Linked DNA regions of Homo sapiens: region 1 is linked to region 2. The links are contacts of gene promoters, found by promoter capture Hi-C in human tissues and cell types (Jung and others, 2019). All regions are on one chromosome and are shown on one strand. The core of a region is centred on a gene start or on the middle of the fragment in contact, and the rest is flanking DNA. Distances in the headings are between cores, read along the strand shown. Region 1 has its middle 44 kb from the start of PAMR1. Region 2 holds the start of PAMR1 (peptidase domain containing associated with muscle regeneration 1).

The links. Contacts are between HindIII fragments. The study calls those that stand out against the background at their distance.
Region 1: a contact is called between a fragment that was not itself captured here and the fragment with the promoter of PAMR1 in region 2, in 1 of the 25 tissues and cell types used here (IMR-90 fibroblasts).

What each region holds. Positions count from the first base shown.
Region 1 is chr11:35,567,598-35,571,171 of GRCh38, forward strand. No RefSeq gene overlaps it. Among named protein-coding and RNA genes, the nearest start is that of PAMR1, 44 kb to the left of the region's middle. The HindIII fragment of the contact is 8,001 bases long and covers 1-3,574 here.
Region 2 is chr11:35,524,062-35,527,757 of GRCh38, forward strand. It overlaps PAMR1 (peptidase domain containing associated with muscle regeneration 1), which reads right to left and starts at 1,555. Exons shown (of 11, transcript NM_001001991.3): 1 at 1,452-1,555. The coding sequence starts at 1,524. The HindIII fragment of the contact is 6,683 bases long and covers 961-3,696 here.

The DNA of each region.
Region 1 (3,574 bases), core at 392-2,891, 44 kb after region 2:
CGTGGATTTGGGCTGCATTTGACCCCGTGAGACACCACTCCAGGCAGTGCAGCTCCCAGCTCTGGGAAGAAAGGCAAGAGTAAAGGGGACTTGGTCTTGCAACTAGAATACCAGCTCAGCTACAGTAAATAAAGCACCAAGCAGAATCCTAAGGCCCCCATTCCAGGCCCTAGTTCCCAGATGACATTTCTAGACCCACTCTGGGCCAGAGGAGAACCCATTGTCCTGAAGGAAAGATTCCAGTCGTGGCAGAATTTAGCACCTGCTGACTGAAAAGCCCTTGGGCCTTGAATAAACATCAGCTGGAGCCAGGAAGCAGTCACCACAGGTCTTGGACAAGATCTAGCATGATGCTGGCTTCAGGTGTGACACAGCACATTCCCAGCTGTTGTGGCCATGGGGAAAGATTCCTTCTGCCTGAGAAAAGGAGAGGGAAGAGTAAAAAGGACTTTGTCTTGCAACTTGGGTACCAGCTCAGCCACAGTAAAATAAAGCAACAAGCAGACCCCTAAGGTCCCTGATTCCAGGCATTCCCTCCTGGAGGGAATTTCTAGACCCACCCTGAGCCAGAAGGGAATCTGCTGCACTGCTCAGTCCTGGCAGGATTTATTACCTAGTGAATAAAGAGCCCTTGGGCCTTGCATAAACATCAGCAGAAGTCAGGAAATTGTTGCCACAGGACTTGAGCAAGACCCAGTACTGTGCTGGCTTCAGGTGTGACCCAGCACAGTCCCAGCAGTGGTAGCCATGAGAGTGCTTGCATCACCCCTCCCCTAACTCCAGGCAGCTCAGCATAGAGAGAGAGAGAGTTTGGGGGAAAGTAAGGGAAGAAACCAGGAGTCTTGCCTGTTAATCCAAGGAATTCTCCCGGATCTTCCCCAAGACCACCAAGGTGGTACCTCTACAAGTCTGCAACAGTCACAGCATTACTGGGCTTGGGGTGCCTCCTAATACAGATAAAGCTACAGTGACCAAAGACTTAGTTCACAACACTCAGTTCTCTTTGAATACTTGGAAAGCCCCCCAAGAAGGATGAGTACAAACAAGCCCAGACTGTGAAGACTACAATAAATATCTGACTCTTCGATGCCCAGACATTGAAGATTGTGGATTATGGATTGATTAACATCCACAGCCATCAAGATCATTCAGGAAAACATAACCTCACCATAACTAAATAAGGCACCAGTGATCAATCCCAGAGTGACAGAAATATGTGATCTTTCAGACAGAGAGTTCAAAATAGCTGTTTTTTGAGAAAACTCAATGAAATCCAAGATAACACAGATAAAGAATTCAGAATCCTATCAGACAACTTTAACAGAGAGATTGAAATAATTAGAAAGAATTGAGCAGAAATTCTGGATCTGAAAAATTCAACTGGCAAACCGAAAAATGCATCAGAATCTCTCAGTAGCAGAATTGATCAAGCAGAAGAAAGGATTAGTAAGCTTGAAGACAGGCTATTTGAAAATACATAGAGGATTCAAAAGAAAAAAGAATAAAGCATGCTTACAGGATCTAGAAAATAACCTCAAAGGGACAAATCTAATAGTTACTTGCCTTAAAGAGGAGGCAGACAGAGATAGAGACTGAAGTAGAAAGTTCATTCAAAAATATAGTAATAGAGAACATCTCAAACCTAAAGAAAGATGTCCATATTCAAATACAAGGAAGTTATAGAACACCAAGCAGATATAATCTAAGTAAGAGTACCTCAAGGCATTAGTAATCAAATTCCCAAAGGTCAAGGATAAAGAAAGGATCCTAAAAGCAGCAAGAGAAAAGAAATAACTAACAATTCCACTGCTTGATGTATACTCCAAAGAAAGGAAATCAGCATATCAAAAGATATTTGCACTGTGTTCATGCAACACTATTTAAAATAACCAAGATTTGGAATCAAGTGAATCAACCTTGGTGTCCATCAACAGATGAATGGATAAAGAAAATGGGTGCATAAACACAGTGGAGTACTATTCCAACATAAAAAAGATAAGATCCTGTCATTTGCAACAGCATGGATGCAACTAGAGAGTATTAGTCCGTTTTCATGCTGCTGATAAAAACATACCCAAGATTAGGCAATTTACAAAAGAAAGAGGTTTCTTGGACTTACAGTTCCACATGGCTGGGGAGGCCTCAAAATCATGGCAGAAGGCAAGGAGGAGCAAGTCACATCTTACATAGATGGCAGCAGGCAAAGAGAAAATTTGTGCAGAGAAACTCCCATTTTTAAAACCATCAGATCTCGTGAGAAATAATATAGAAAGGAGCTTCAATATGTCTGGCAGCAGATTTCTCAGTGGAAACTTTACAAGCCAAGAGACAGTGACATGATATATTTAAAATACTGAAGGAAAGAACTTTTATCCTGGAATATAATATTCAACAAAAATACCCTTCAAACATGAAGTAAAGACTTCCCCAGACAAACAAAACCTAAAAGATTTTTATCAACACCAGACCTATCCTATAAGAAATGCTAAAAGCAGTTCTTCAGTCTGCCTAGCAAAAGAAGCAATCAACAAAGTGAAAAGACAACCCACAGAATGGGAGAAAATATTTGCAAACTATCCATCAGTCAAGGGGTTAATAACCAGAATATATAGGGCACTTAAATAAATCAATAGGAAAAAAATCTAATAATCACATTTTTAGATAGGCAAAAGATCTGAATAGACATTTCTCAAAAGAAGACCTACAAATGGTAAATAGGTATATAAAAATATGCTCAACATTTTGATCATCAGAGAACTGCAAATCAAAACTACTGTGAGATTTCCTCTCACCCCAGTTAAAATGACCTTTATCCAAAAGACAGGCAATAACAAATGCTGGTGAGGTTGTGGAGAAAGGGTAACCTCTGTATACTGTGAGTGGGAGTATAAATTAGAACAGCCTCCATGGAGAACGATATGGAGGTTCCTCAAAAAACTAAAATAGAACTACCATATGCACTAACAATTCCACTGCTGGATATATACTCCAAAGAAAGGAAATCAGCATATCAAAGAGATATTTGCACTGCCATGTTCATGCAACACTATTTAAAATAACCGAGATTTGGAATTGAGTGAATCAACCTCAGTGTCCATCAACAGTTGAATGGATAAAGAAAATGGGTGCATATACACAGTGGAGTACTATTCCATCATAAAAAAGGTGAGATCCTGTCATTTGCAACATGGATGCAACTAGAGAGTATTAGTCCGCTTTCATGCTGCTGACAAAAACATACCGAAGACTGGGCAATTTACGAAAGAAAGAGGTTTCTTGGACTTACAGTTCCACATGGCTGGAGAGACCTCAAAATCATGGCAGAAGGCAAGGAGGAGCAAGTCACATCTTACCTAGATGGCAGCAGGCAAAGAGAAAATTTGTGCAGAGAAACTCCCATTTTTAAAACCATCAGATCTCATGAGTCCCATTCACTATCACAAGAACAGCATGGGAAAGACCCACCCCCATGATTAAATTGTCTCCCACTGGGTCCCTCCCACATCATGTGGGAATTATGGGAGCTACAAGATGAGATGTGGGTGGAGACACAGAGCCAAACCATATCATGAAG
Region 2 (3,696 bases), core at 305-2,804:
TCTGAGAAGAACCAGGTCCTCTGGAGCTGGTCCACCGACACCATGCAAAGGCGAAGATGAAGTAGGGAGGTGCCTTAATGCAAAGTCACCCACTTACCCCTAGGCAAGTGTTTAGGTTTATGGATTGTCAGCCCTTATGAAGGGCTCCTTCTTCCTTTATTATTGTCTTTGGGCTGCTCCAGACACCATGGAGGCAAAATTCAAATGAAACACTCACCATCTTTATTGTAAATCATTAAGGAAGATCCTACCTGGGCAGGCAGGCTCTAGGTAGATGGAAAGTATTGACCAAAATGAAGGGCAGGGGGGTTTGTGTATCTCAGCTTTTCGTTGATCATGAAGGGATGTGCCTATGGCTAAGTTTCCCTTCTACACAGGTTATTGCATTTAGTATCCTCCCCACCCGACCTGGCCTGTTTCATTCTCAGGCACTTGCCAGCTACTTGCAGCGGCAGAGCACCCAGCTCTCAGATAGAGTTCAGGTGACAGGTAACCAGCACAGAAGGGAAGCAGCGAAGGCTCGTACATAACCTGCCCCTATTCAGAGCTGCCCCGTTTGGTCATTTCTGTACATCTCGGCCTGCCCTCATCTCATGAGGTCTCACTTTACCCCCTGGGCCATAGAAGGACAGATGTTCCTATGACGTTCCCACTTCCCCGCCTGCCAGCAAGCAGGATCTGCCATGTCCTCGCTTCTGCCCTTAGCTGGATCTCCGTATCATGTCCCAGCCTCATTTGTCCCCAGAAGCCCATTTGACCTGGGGATTGTGGCTTAGAAAATGATATATGAAAACCAAAGAAGCCAGAGCTCTTTCAAAACAAACCCTATGCATCCCAGAAACAATCTGCACTTTTAACCTTGGCTTTTTCTTCTTTCTCACTCTCATCAGAAAGGAAGTGTGTCTATATATGCTGAGTGAGTCAATCTCCTGTGCTTGGATCTACTCCGAAGGGGTATGGCTGTAGGAGTTCGTGAAGCAAGATTCACCAGAAGAACACCAAGCAAGCCCTGCTCTTTATTCCTTTCTTTCTTTCCCTCTCTTCTTTCTTTCTTGCTCACCTCTGAGGGAGCCCTTTCCAAGAGAAACTTCGCTTTTGCAAGTCAGAGCGGGTAACTCAGAATTGATTCCCTAAGGCAATTTGGTACTTTTAAAATGATAAAAAGAGCAAATAAAATAGGAGCTGGTCCGCTTTCCTGAGACAGTACAGCCCCACGATTTGGGATGACAAAACCACGTCACAGTCTCAGGGAGGGCCACAGGAGCTCCAGCACCACCAGCCAAGTCCCTAAAATTATCACTGGAAAAGCACCACCCCCCCTCAACCCCTCACCCCAAACACACACAGCCCACCTCCTGAGACTCCCAGTCCTGCTCCCAGGCAGACCCCAGGAGGAAAATGCTCCCTCCTAGGGTGTCCTCCTAGGGTGTCCCGGACGCTACTCACAGTACCTCTTGGCAAGGACGAGATGAGAAGGAGCTGAAGAAAAGTGAGCCCCAACTGCGTCCAGCAACCCAGCTCCATCCTTGCCGCGGCTGGTGCCCGAGCGTCTACTGGGGAGGGAGAGGAGGGACCCAGGGAGGCCGGGGGCAGGCGGGTTTTACAGGGACCTCCCCGAGCCCCAGCTGAGCGGGAGCTCGGGTTTCAGCTCGCCAGGCTCTCCCATCCTCATCTGAGGGGAACCACCTTCAGCCAGAGCGACGTCAGCCCAAACCTCTCCTCTCTGCTGCCTTAACCCTTGCGGGGCCCCGGGAGGTGTGGCCACGCCTGGAGACCCGCGGACGGCGGCTGCAAAGGAAGCTGCGGGGGAGGGAGGCCAGCCTGGGTACAGGTGGGGTCCCAGTGTTGGGTGCTGGGAGGAGGGGCCATAGGACCCTGGGCGGGAGCAGAGGTACCCAGGGCTGCGGGGCGCTCAGGTGAGGCCGGGAGATCTTCCTACGGGAGGCTGAGACGGGAGCTGGCTTTGCCCTCTCTGACTGCACGCGGGGAGCCTGATTAAAAGCCTGGCCTGAGGAGAAGGAGGAGTTGGTGATGGGAGGAGAAAGGGAGCCTCCCTCCACTCCGCACGCAACACTCCTCGTTTATCTCCTTTCCTCTCCGTTTGCTCCAGGTGATCACAGGTTGGAAAGCTTATTATCTTTTGCAACTACAGGCTACTGGAAAAAGTTTTCCTCTTCCTATGATCCCCGTCATGGTGAATTCAGCGACATAAGCAGCTCCTGAGCTACTGGAAAAAGTTTTCCTCTTCCTGTGATCCCCACGATGGTGAATTCAGCAACATAAATAGCTCCTGCGCACACGCCAGGCAGGGATGGCGAAGAACACACAAGAACCCTCACTGCCTCCACCAAAAGGGCTCAGTTTAGGTACAAGATAGCAAGTGACATCTCGAAATGAGGAAGAAGGATGTTTCATAATAGGTGACTTTTTAAAATAAACTCCTCCGTGCCAGGTGTCATGTACCTTACATGTATTAACTCAATTATTCCTCACAATAAACCTAGCCTCTGTATTTTACAATTAGAGAAACGGAACCATTGAGGATTACAATAACTCATCCAAGGCCACACAGTTAGTGAGGGGCAGAGCCAGGGTTTGAACCCGGGCAGCTTAGGCCCACAGGCTATAGTCTTAGCCACTAGGCTATAGAGCTTCTTAGGATGCTACATATGCAGAATTGTATTTCACCATTTGATATGGCTTCGCTGTGTCCCCACCCAAACCTCATCTTGAATTGTGGTTCCCATAAACCCCACGTGTCATGGGAGGGACCAGGTGGAGATAATTGAATCATGGGGACAGTTACCCCCATAAAAGTTTTAATTTTGTTCTCTAGATGTTGGCGGGCCCTGGTGGTTTACAAGTAGGGTGTGCTGAGCTCAAAGCAAAGTCTCGGGAAGAGAAGTCACCCTGGACTATTGATGAAGGCCTGGAGTAAGGATTAAGAAATGGAAGTGGAAGGGAAAAGATAAGGGGAGAAACCTGAGGAAGGTAGAATCTGTAAAGCTCAGGACAGATCAGAAGGTCAGGAGCCCTGACACAGGTGCTCTACTAGAAAGAATTTCTGAACTCCAGCCCTGCTTCTGGGGGCCTATTGCAGTGAAGTGACTGGAAGCAAGAACTCAGCAGGCCTGTGTTCTAATTTTGTTGATTCACCACTTTCTGGCTGTGTGACCTTAAGCAAGTTAACTCTCTGAATCTCAGTCTTCTCATCTATAAAATGGAAATAATAATCAAACCTACTTTGTAGATCACTGGAAGAATTTAATAAGATTACGCATGTAAGGCCCATAGCACAGAGCCTACCACATATTAAGTGCACACTAAATATTAATCATTATCTCTATTATCTGACCTGAGACTGCCCCCAAGAACATCTCATGGTATGAGTCTTGTTCCTACACTCAACTTCCATATCGAGATGAAATCAGTTAAAATAAGCACCAAGAGTAGCCTTAAACAGGAGCAGAATACCAGAGGGCAGCATATACCTAAGAGGTAGAGGGCAGAGGTTCGAAGAAGGGAGGTTCACCTTGTTGCTGGCCAACCAGTCCTGGTCCTTTGGTGATGGGAGTGGGAAGAAGATGACTTAGTTCCCAAATAACTGTAGGCATAAGAGCCTCTCAGGAGTCTGTTTCAACTCCAGCTGACGGCACCTGAGCTTTACAGATTCTACCTTCCTCAGGTTTCTCCCCT